Regions from separate parts of the Homo sapiens genome. Here all the other regions are linked to region 2. Evidence: promoter capture Hi-C in 16 types of primary human blood cells and fetal thymus (Javierre and others, 2016). All regions are on one chromosome and are shown on one strand. The core of a region is centred on a gene start or on the middle of the fragment in contact, and the rest is flanking DNA. Distances in the headings are between cores, read along the strand shown. Region 1 holds the start of MAGOHB (mago homolog B, exon junction complex subunit). Region 2 holds the start of TMEM52B (transmembrane protein 52B). Region 3 holds the start of EIF2S3B (eukaryotic translation initiation factor 2 subunit gamma B). Region 4 overlaps LINC02446 (long intergenic non-protein coding RNA 2446).

Region 1 (2,700 bases), core at 1-2,500, 440 kb after region 2:
TTGTTAACACGTTGGGCTCCTCCCCTTCAAAGAAAACACACAGCCTAAATGAAAAAAAGGTACTGGTCACCACAAGATTTTATTCATCCACTGGACCACCCGCTGGTGGGGGTGTTTTCAAAAAAGTGCTAGCATTTTCAATCAGGGCGACGATCTAGAGTCCCTTCTGGTGCACTGTTACAGAATTCTGATTACTGTAGGTTCAACTTTTCAGTTTGTGACAGGATTAGCTTTAATTTATTGCAATTAATTCTCTTTCATTTATAAAACCAACTTATGCCTCCTCTATTCTTAAGCTCCTATTTCCTTCGAGGGAAGCAGTGGCCTCCGCCGCCTGTACCCTCCACACCACCCGGCCTCTCGGTCTCGCTCCCCTTTCCCAGCACCGCGTGCCGTGGGCCTCTTCTCACCGTCCGGCCGAAATTCGAACTCCAGAAACTCGTGCCCAAACTTGCCCTTGTGCCCTACGTAGTAGCGCAGGTAGAAATCGCTAGCCACAGCCATTTTTGTACCCGGGAAGCCCGCCGAAAACGCAGCCAACGTGTCCCCCGGCGCCTTGCAGTGACGTCATCGCGCGGAATAAGTGCGTCACCACAGGCGCTTCTCTTCCTCCTGCAGTGCAGCCCTAGACTAAAGCGTGAAAGCCGAGTATCGCGTGAGAGTCCGGAGGCGCTGAAGGGAGGGTCGCAGCGCCGTGACTTTCGCTTTACTAGGAATGGAGGCACATTGTTTTCAAAATAAAGATTACATTATACTAGCAAAGATTAGAAATGTGAGCATATGATAGTCTTTTTTATGGACTTAGAGCTAAAGGTTTGCAAGTCACTTTTACTTTTCTGGTCTCCCAATCCTTGCGGCGTTTGTGAGGTGGGTGTGGCTCTATGCCCCCTTTAACTGTGAGCTAAATAAAGATAAAGCTTAGAATCGAAATGGCAGACCGGGAATATAAACTATTTTTCTTACTTAATTTCTAACAGGGTGCTTTCCCTTTGGATAGCGATTGGTAGTTACCCGGGACCTCTAAGCCTATAATAATAGAGACAAAGTCAAAGGAATCCAACTCTTAAAACCCTCACACCCCCCACACCTGAAAAACCCTGACAGTCACCGTGCTTTTTTTAACAGCAGAACTTCTAAGGTTCTTAATTCATTCAATAAGGGTTAACTTTTAGTAGCCTGTGAAGTTTTGGCAATTTGACTTACGATACAATAATGGTTTAGCCCATTATTGTTTCTCGCCAGATAGAATTAAATTGGGGGAATGAAAGAATGCTCCAGTGTGGCGTAGTTTTTAAGGTAAGGGAAAGACTTTTACACAAAGTTTCCTTTTCAGATATTATTGATCACCCTTTTGTTATCAACACACAGAGTAATCCTATCTGTCGGTTGACAACCTTCAGTGATTTTTAGTAGAAAGTGGTGGAGAGAAGACCTGGGATTCAATCCCAACACTTAACAGCTAACTAACCTCGGGCAAGTGACTATCTCTAAGCCTGTTTGTTCATCAGCCTAATGCATATACAGCAATCTACATTGCCAAGCTCACAGAATTCTTGAGAGATCTAATGAGATAATATGTAAAATAAGCTTTAAATTTTATAAAACATTAGTTTTAACAAACATTTCCTATGTGACAGTTTGAAACTAGAAATAAGCCATTTGATCTGGTAGTCTAGAAAAGAAAGCAAACACGTAAGGCGAATACCAGCACAAGGGAGCAATTGCTATAATTAAGAATATATGTGCCATCCTGGCCAGCATGGTGAAACCCCGTCTCTATTAAAAATACAAAAAAATTAGCTGGGCGTGGTGGCGCGTGCCTGTAATACCAGATACGCGGGAGGCTGAGGCAGGAGAATTGCTTGAACCCTGGAGGCAGAGGTTTCAGTGAGCTGAGATCGTGCCACTGCATTCCAGCCTGGGCAACAAGAGCGAAACTCTGTCTCAAAAAAAAAAAAAAAAAAAAAAGAAAAAGAAAAGAAAGCCTATATGTGGCCGGGCGCAGTGGCTCATGCCTGTAATCCCAGCACTTTGGGAGGCCAAAGGGGGCAAATCACCCGAGGTCAGGAGTTCAAGACCAGCCTGGCCAACATGGCAAAACCTTGTCTTTACTAAAAATACAAAAATTAGCCAGGTTTGGTGGCACGTGCCTGTAATCCTAGCTACTCAGGAGGCTGAGGCAGGAGAATCGCTTGAACCCGAGAGGCGGAGATCGCGCAGTTGCACTCCAGCCTGGGTGACAAGAGCGAAACTTCGTCTAAAAAAAAAAAAGTGTGTAAAACATGCCGGTAGTACAGCAGAGGAAGCAAGAGCATTCTATTGCAGAGTAGGGAAATTTGAAAAAAGAGTATTGGAAAAGGCTTGTCAACGGAAGTGTTTGAATTGGACCTTGAGAAGTAAGTTCTGTGTATGTTCAGTGGGATGAAAAAGCATTCCAGGCAGAAAATGACCCGAGCAAAGACAGTGGTGTGAAAATTCATGTTTGGGGAACACTAAGAAATTCGGTATAGCTAGAGCATAAGGTTCAAGTAGAATGACTAAAAAGGCAAATTGGGCCACGTTTCCTTGAGTCCATATTAGTAGTTATATAACTATTAATATAGAAAAATGAATCAGTCCCTACAATGGGCCACCATTTTGGAAAGTACGTAAGAAACAGGAAGCACCATGTTTTACCACTAGGGTGACTAGCCGTTCCAG
Region 2 (2,700 bases), core at 33-2,532:
CAGAGAGACTCTGTCTCAAATAATAATAATAATAATAATAATAATAATAATAATAATAATAATAATTTTTTTATTAAACATTTGGTATTAAGTAAAAGATCACCTACTTAAGTATAAATCATTCATACAGCATTCTTTTGTTTCTTTTAATATTTTGCTTTTTTGAGGCAGATTCTCGCTCTATCACCCAGGCTGGAGTGCAGTGGTGTGATCTCGGCTCACTGCAACTTCTGCCTTCCGGGTTCAAGTGGCCCTCCTGCTTCAGCCTCCCAAGTAGTTGGGATTACAGGTGCCTGCCATGACACACAGCTAATTTTTGTATGTTTCGTAGAGAAAGGGTTTCATCATGTTCTCCAGGCTGGTCTCAAACTCCTGGCCGAAGTTATCAGCCCGCCTTGGCCTCCCAAAGTGCTGGGATTACAGGCATGAGCCATGGCACCCGGCCACATTTGTGTCTATAGCTTTGTTTCATTGTAAGTATTCTAGGCCAGGCACGGTGGCTCACGCCTGTAATCCCAGCACTTTGGGAGGCCGAGTCGGGCGGATCATGAGGTCAGGAGATCGAGACCATTCTGGTTAACATGGTGAAACCCCGTCTCGTCTCTACTAAAAATACAAAAAAACTTAGCCGGGCGTGGTGGTGGGCGCCAGTATTCCCAGCTACTCGGGAGGCTGAGGCAGGAGAATGGCATGAACCCAGGAGGCAGAGTTTGCAGTGAGCCGAGATTGCGCCACTGCACTCCAGCCTGGGTGACAGAGCAAGACTCCGTCTCAAAAAAAAAAAAAAAAAAAGTATTCTATGCTTTTGCATGTGTGCTTGTTTTTACTCTAACCTTAGGTTTTATTTTCCTGAGTGACAAGACTTATTTCTCAATCACATCACTCCTTAACCAAAGAGAGAGAGAGAGAGAGAAAGAGAGAGAAAGAAGGAACAAAGAAAAGGCAAGAAAGAAAGAAACCTATACATTTGCTTTTTTAAAATTTGGTTTTAAAAAAATGTCTTTCTCAGTTATCTATTTCAATGGGAAGTGAAGTCAGGGAGGAGGAAGATGTCACTGATAACACCTGAAAATTCTAATCTTCCGACTTGATTTCTCATCTTCAAGTCTGTTTTCTCCAAAGATGAGATGGCTTTCCTGTTCACTTGGCAACCTCTCAGTCTTACCCCAATGCTTAGGGATATAAATGACCCAGAACCAGGAGAGTTGATTATCAACATAGTGAAGGGGAGGGTTTCAAAGAGCAAGAAGGGGTTGTTAGTCACACGGAGAGAGAAGAAAGGAGATTAGCAGGGTGACTTTCACCCTGCAACAGTCACGCTGGAGTACTCTGGTGAAGGATCAAGAATATTACCAGTTTTCTGATGAAGAAAGGAATATATTTGGTCACCAGCAATCTGCCTTTGACCATCCTCAAAGCCAAGTTTTTCATCGCTGTCTAGAAAAATACTTCATTCAGAGGACACATATGTCCTCTTTGAATGTCTCCTTTTTGGGAGCAGTAGGAGAAAGAAACTTCAAGATGTAGAAAGAATTAATAGTGTAACGGAAAGAAAGAAGGCAAAAGGAAGTAAATGTGGAGGCCATAGAAATAGTAATAAGAATAAAGAAGAAAAACAGGAAAGAAGAGGGAAAAGCCATAGAAAATAACAGCCAGAGCGAGTAGGAGGAGACAGAGAGAACGAGAGAGAGAAAAGCTGATAAATTCCTGAGAAAAGTTTCTCTTCTTAAGAATTCTAGGTCAAGAAGTAAAATATGGCACAGAGCATTGAAAGGAGGCAACGGATGCCCAGTGCAAGATTCTGAAGAAGCAGGAATTCAGCCCGATGGGAGTCCGAGTTCATGTCGTGGCGGCCTCAGCCCTGCTGTATTTCATCCTGGTGAGTTCAGTGGTGAAAAGGCAGAAAGAGTATTTTTCCCCAGATTAATCAACTCTCAGAAGAGTCTGAAAGGAAATGAACTGCGGGGTGGGGAGACATATACAGAACCCAGGGGGTCATAGGGAAATGAATAAACTACAAAGTTTCCTTAGTATTACGAGATTGCATAGATGCATGTGTGACTGATGGCAATGACAATGAAAAGGGGGACAGAAATTAGAGTGAGCATGGAAACGAGCAGGATTGCCGTGGCACTTTAGAAGTGCCGCTGAAGTATTTTATCTCTTTTAGCATCTTATCACCCATCCCTCAAAATTCCAAACAAATTATGAAAACTAGGTGTGTAATTCCCCTAAACGGAATTTCCCATCCAGGAATTTCTAATCCTGTTCTAGCAGTTTAGGTGCCTCTAGTCTAGAAATAAGAGAGGCAGGGCTCTTTTAAAATATTTTGGGCCCCACAATGAATCAGAAGTCTCTGAGTAATCCATTAGTGGAGAAAAGGGTCACTGGACTGAGGGATTCTAAACAATTGTCACAGGGAAGTTTATAGAGCTATGCCATCTAGCAAGAAGGAGAGCAAATGAAGAAAACTGGATAGTCTCAGATTCCCGTATGGCCCCCGTACAGAGTGGGCTGTATGGTTTGTTTTTTTTTTTTTTTTGCTAATAGAACAGTTAAAGTGGTATCTGAAAATCCATTTTTTCTTATATTTTCTTTTTGCTTCCTCTTCACTCCCTTTGCCTTGTCTTCCCTTCATTTTTCCTTTCTTTTCTCTTTGCAACAAGCCTGAAAAGTAGCATTTTCTCTGCTGAGCACTTT
Region 3 (2,700 bases), core at 44-2,543, 330 kb after region 2:
TAAAACTACCCATATAACCCAATAATATCACTTCTGGGTATACAGTATATCCAAAAGAATTAAAATTAGTATCTTGAAGAGATATCTGCACTCCCACATCAATGGTAGGATTATCAAGAATAAATAATATTTAAACAACCTAAATGTACACTGACAGATGAACAGATAAAGAAAATGTAGTATGTACATATGATGGAATATTCTTCAGCCTTAAAGAAAGAATATTCTGCCATTCATGACAACATGAATGACCCTTGAGGACATTAAGCTAAATAAAATAAGCCAGTCACAGAAGAACAAATGCTTTATGATTATACTATATGAGTTATCTAAAGTAGTCAAATTCATAGGAACAGAGAATGGTGGTTACCAGGGACTCACTTTCAATTGGTTAAGTTTCAGTTACGAAAGACGAATAAGTTCTAGAGATATACTGTACCACATAGTACGTATAGTTAGCAACAATACGTTGATCACTTTAAAATCTGCTAGGAGGGTAGATCTCATGTCAAGTGTCTTACTTGCCCTCTGCTCCCAAAATAAAGGTACTCAAGAAAAACTTTGTAGATGATAAACATGCCTACTATCTTCATTGGGTGATGGTATTACGAATGTATGCATATGTCCAAACTCATCAAATTGTATACGTTAAAAATGCACAGTTTTTTTGTATATAAACTATACCTCAATAAAGCTATTGTAATAAATCTCCAATATAGCATCTATTAATGGTCATCACTCCAACATAATTTGAAGAAATGAAAATTATAATATAAACCACGACATAGCTATTTGTTTCGAACAAAAAATAAATATATTAATAATTAATCTTCTTAAAGAAGAAAAATATTTAGTGTAGAATTATTCAGTGTGTTGCTGGTTTTGTGTCTTCTTAGAAATGTAATAGCAGGCTGTATATACAAGATCCATTTTCATATAAATAGATTACAATGGTCCATTAATTTTTTAAGTATTTATCTGTGGTCAACTGAAAATATATTTTCGACCCGCCTCGCATGGGCCCAGGGGGCGGGGGTTTGGGTGGCTGCCCTCAGTATTGCCTGCACAAATATCTACCAAGTCTGCGACGAATAGCTCCAGCAACTTTGCACCGTGTTTTCCAGTAAGCCTACCGACAGGCACTGTGCAGATTCAAGCAGAGAGAAGTCCAAGCACTGAGGCCGCTGCTGCACCGGCCATCCTGAGACCCTAGTCGACCTTCCGGCCTCCGCATCCCCGCCCCGCACTAGGACCCCTGCAGACGATCAGGCGGCAGCCGGGGTGACTTTCTTCCTCTTTTGGCAACATGGCGGGCGGAGAAGCTGGGGTGACTCTGGGGCAGCCGCACCTTTCGCGTCAGGATCTCACCACCTTGGATGTTACCAAGTTGACGCCACTTTCACACGAAGTTATCAGCAGACAAGCCACAATTAATATAGGTACAATTGGTCATGTAGCTCATGGGAAATCCACAGTCGTCAAAGCTATTTCTGGAGTTCACACCGTCAGGTTCAAAAATGAACTAGAAAGAAATATTACAATCAAGCTTGGATATGCTAATGCTAAGATTTATCAACTTGATGACCCAAGTTGCCCTCGGCCAGAATGTTATCGATCTTGTGGGAGCAGTATGCCTGATGAGTTTCCTACAGACATTCCAGGAACCAAAGGGAACTTCAGATTAGTCAGACATGTTTCCTTTGTTGACTGTCCTGGCCACGATATTTTGATGGCTACTATGCTGAACGGTGCAGCAGTGATGGATGCAGCTCTTCTGTTGATAGCTGGTAATGAATCTTGCCCTCAGCCTCAGACATCTGAACACCTGGCTGCTATAGAGATCATGAAACTGAAGCATATTTTGATTCTACAAAATAAAATTGATTTGGTAAAAGAAAGGCAGGCTAAAGAACAATACGAGCAGATCCTTGCGTTTGTCCAAGGTACAGTAGCAGAGGGAGCTCCCATTATTCCAATTTCGGCTCAGCTGAAATACAATATTGAAGTTGTTTGTGAGTACATAGTAAAGAAAATTCCAGTACCCCCAAGAGACTTTACTTCAGAGCCCCGGCTTATTGTTATTAGATCTTTTGATGTCAACAAACCTGGCTGTGAAGTTGATGACCTTAAGGGAGGTGTAGCTGGTGGTAGTATCCTAAAAGGAGTATTAAAGGTGGGCCAGGAGACAGAAGTAAGACCTGGTATTGTTTCCAAAGATAGTGAAGGAAAACTCATGTGTAAATCAATCTTTTCCAAAATTGTTTCACTTTTTGCGGAGCATAATGATCTGCAATATGCTGCTCCAGGCGGTCTTATTGGAGTTGGAACAAAAATTGACCCCACTTTGTGCCGGGCTGACAGAATGGTGGGGCAAATACTTGGTGCAGTCGGAGCTTTACCTGAGATATTCACAGAATTGGAAATTTCCTATTTCCTGCTTAGACGGCTTCTAGGTGTACGCACTGAAGGAGACAAGAAAGCAGCAAAGGTTCAAAAGCTGTCTAAGAATGAAGTGCTCATGGTGAACATAGGATCCCTGTCGACAGGAGGGAGAGTTAGTGCTGTCAAGGCCGATTTGGGCAAAATTGTTTTGACCAATCCAGTGTGCACAGAGGTAGGAGAAAAAATTGCCCTTAGCCGAAGAGTTGAAAAACACTGGCGTTTAATTGGTTGGGGTCAGATAAGAAGAGGAGTGACAAT
Region 4 (2,869 bases), core at 169-2,668, 380 kb after region 2:
GTCTTGCTCTGTGGCCCAGGCTGGAGTGCAATGGTGCCTTCTTAGCTCACTGCAATCTCAGCCTCCCAAATTGAAGGGATTCTGCTGCCTCAGCCTCCTGAGTAAGCTGGGACTACAGGTGTGAGCCACCACACACAGCTAACTTTAGTATTTTTTGGTAGAGATGGGGTTTCATCATGTTGGCCAGGCTAGTCTCAAACTCCTGATATCAGGTGATCCACCTGCCTCAGCCTCCCAAAGGGCTGGGATTACAGGAGTGAGCCACCATGCCCAGCCCTAAAAAACTAATGTTATGTTATTGTTAACTTGATTTTTTCTTATTAACATATGATGTTCCAAGGAGTCATTGTTAAAAATTGGAGTAACAAGGAGAAATATGAAGAGAGAAAAACACTTCCTTATAAAATTACATTAATATGTTTCCTTTCTATAATTTCTATGCAACATACTGGGAATCACACATTAGTTTACAACCCAATTCATAAATTAGCATTATGCCAGAAGCATTTCTCATGTCATTGAATACTTCATAAGTCATTTGAAAGTGTGTATGTTTTTTAATTGTATGATTGTATCATATATACTAACCCTTTCATTATTGTTGGACCCAAGATTTTACCTGGTATTTGACAATTCCAATAATGCTAAGGTAAAATCTTGAGTGTGTACCATTTTGTCCACATTATTTTCTGAAGATAGATTTCTAGTAGACTCATTGGCTCAAAAAGTACTACCATTTTTTAAGGTTATCAATATATTTTGCTAAATTTGTGTGCAGTAGTTATCTACTAACATTTGCTACAGCAGTTTATGAGAATATAGTTATTACTTCATTCTGACCAGCAAGACTAATTTTCAAATAAGCCTTGATTTTAGAGCTTGGTTTATGTGGTGATGCCATCTGGTGGCCTAGTACAAAATTACAGAATCAGAAGTGAAAAACCTTTTGAAAACTGTAATGAGCAAAATTAAATTTATAAGGTGATGGCAAATAGCACAAGTCTTATACGTTGTCAGAAAGCATTCTTGCTGTTTGGATTTCTAAAAATTATCAGGAGCCATGTAAAATGAAGATTACAAACTCAAACAATGCTCATTCATTCATCTCTTCAACCTGAGTTTTTGGAGTACCTACCACATGGTAGTACTATTCCCTGCTGATGAAAAAGATGAAGTCTCCATGCATGATTTCCAGGAATGTGTAGTTTAATGGGGATACATAATGCAAATTTACCACTATAAATTTTACCAAAGGCTTTCACAAGTGGTGACTAATATTTACTAATATTTGTCATTTGAATCATTTTTATCAAATGTATGATATGTAATTGTGGTTGACTTTCTCTAAAATAACTCCAGTCATCATTCCACTTCTTGGTATTCATGCCATTGTATAATCTTCTTCCCAGAGTGTGTGCTCAAGTTGGCATCTCTGTTTCTCTTTCTCTCCCTCTTTCTCTCCCACTCCCCTCTCCCACATACACGTCCCCAGCAGAAAACAGAATAACAAACTGCCATGAAGTGAGTAGCTCTATGGAGAGGTCTATGAGGCAAGGCATTGACATTTCTCCTGTTAACAGTGAGTGAGGACCTCACACCAGCCAACAGCATGTGCATGAGGCTGCATATGAGTCTGCCCCAACTGAGCCTTCAGATGACTGTAGCCCTCACCCACACCCCAAAGGCATCCTTGTGAGAAACTCTAAGTCAGAGTCACCCATGGCTGGATTCCTGACCCAAAAAAAGCATAAGTTGTGGGATAATTTAGTAATTTGTTACACACAAATAGTTAACTAATTAACTAATAAAAAGAATTTGAGCCTGGCCTGGTGGCTCATGCCTGTAATCCCAGCATTTTGGGAGGCTGAGGTGGACGGATCACTTGAGGACAGGAGTTCAAAGATCAGCCTAGCCAACATGGTGAAACCCCATCTCTACTAAAAATACAGAAATTAGCCAGGCATGGTGGCCCATGCCTGTAATCCCAGCTACTCAGGAGACTGAGGCAGGAGAATCACTTGAAGTCGGGAGGTGGAGGCTGCAGTGAACCAAGATCGCCCATTGCACTCCAGCCTGGGTGACAGAGCAAGAAACCCTGTCTTAAAAAAATAAAAAAAAGAAAGAAAGCTATTCAAACATTTGAATAGTGATTTCAACATAATTACTCAAGTCCTATACAAAATTACTTAAGTCCTATACAAATTTAAACTACAATTACAGATTTAGTTAAGCTAAGTCTTTTGAGCACCTCAAACACCTTAAGTAGCAAATATACCCAAAGAAAATTATTACAAAACCTATTGCTTACTCTTAAACCTATCCTAAAATATAACAATAGTTTTTAAACTTCATTTCTTTTGTTATTCCTATAATTTTTATTCTTCTCTAAGGCTATAATTCCACTTGATAACTTCCATTAGTTGTATTAATGCATCCTTTTACATCTTTCTGGGCTTGTAGTGATCTCCCTAGACCAATAAGCAAAATATTTCAGTAAATGGCTGGTCAAGCAACTGATTTTTAGTCAGTTTGGGACCCGTTTGTTTTTGCCACGATAATTAACTCCAGCTGCAGGCCATGAAGTCATCTCCTATTTTAGAGTTAAACTTCTTTTGTTATAAAAATAAGACATTTCAAATTCTCATCTTTCACATGTTTTTGGATTTTTATAACCTAATATCTCCATCATAAATGATACGTTTCAAGTCTCAACCAACATTTCATTATGTATTATCCTATCTCTATTATATACTGATATTTTATGTTAGGATTATTACAAATTATGTATGCTTTATTGTATTATTTAAGGGCCACTTAGAAATTCTATATCCTAGGAAAAGAGAAATGAAAGTTTTGTAGTAAGCTTCCT

What was found. The method cuts DNA at HindIII sites, captures the fragments that hold promoters and counts their contacts. A CHiCAGO score of 5 or more calls a contact.
Region 1: a fragment that was not itself captured here is called in contact with the fragment with the promoter of TMEM52B in region 2 in 1 of 17 cell types (naive CD8 T cells); the score reaches 5.1 in naive CD8 T cells.
Region 3: the fragment with the promoter of EIF2S3B here is called in contact with the fragment with the promoter of TMEM52B in region 2 in 1 of 17 cell types (naive CD8 T cells); the score reaches 6.2 in naive CD8 T cells.
Region 4: a contact is called between a fragment that was not itself captured here and the fragment with the promoter of TMEM52B in region 2, in 1 of 17 cell types (naive CD4 T cells). The highest score is 5.3, in naive CD4 T cells.

Annotation. Positions count from the first base shown.
Region 1 is chr12:10,613,029-10,615,728 of GRCh38, forward strand. MAGOHB (mago homolog B, exon junction complex subunit) reads right to left here and starts at 581. Exons shown (of 5, transcript NM_018048.5): 1 at 411-581. The coding sequence starts at 504. RefSeq lists enhancers at 1-517, 302-701, 518-1,395. The HindIII fragment of the contact is 670 bases long and covers 916-1,585 here.
Region 2 is chr12:10,177,750-10,180,449 of GRCh38, forward strand. It overlaps TMEM52B (transmembrane protein 52B), which reads left to right and starts at 1,283. Exons shown (of 5, transcript NM_001384896.1): 1 at 1,283-1,879. The coding sequence starts at 1,826. RefSeq lists an enhancer at 1,641-2,700. The HindIII fragment of the contact is 29,503 bases long and covers 1-2,700 here.
Region 3 is chr12:10,504,597-10,507,296 of GRCh38, forward strand. It overlaps EIF2S3B (eukaryotic translation initiation factor 2 subunit gamma B), which reads left to right and starts at 1,294. Exons shown (of 1, transcript NM_001357734.3): 1 at 1,294-2,700. The coding sequence starts at 1,307. All of the region lies in intron 3 of LOC105369657 (a long non-coding RNA gene), which reads right to left. The HindIII fragment of the contact is 5,298 bases long and covers 1-1,544 here.
Region 4 is chr12:10,561,607-10,564,475 of GRCh38, forward strand. The region is part of intron 1 of LINC02446 (long intergenic non-protein coding RNA 2446); the gene reads left to right. Among named protein-coding and RNA genes, the nearest start is that of LINC02446, 9.7 kb to the left of the region's middle. The HindIII fragment of the contact is 2,885 bases long and covers 1-2,861 here.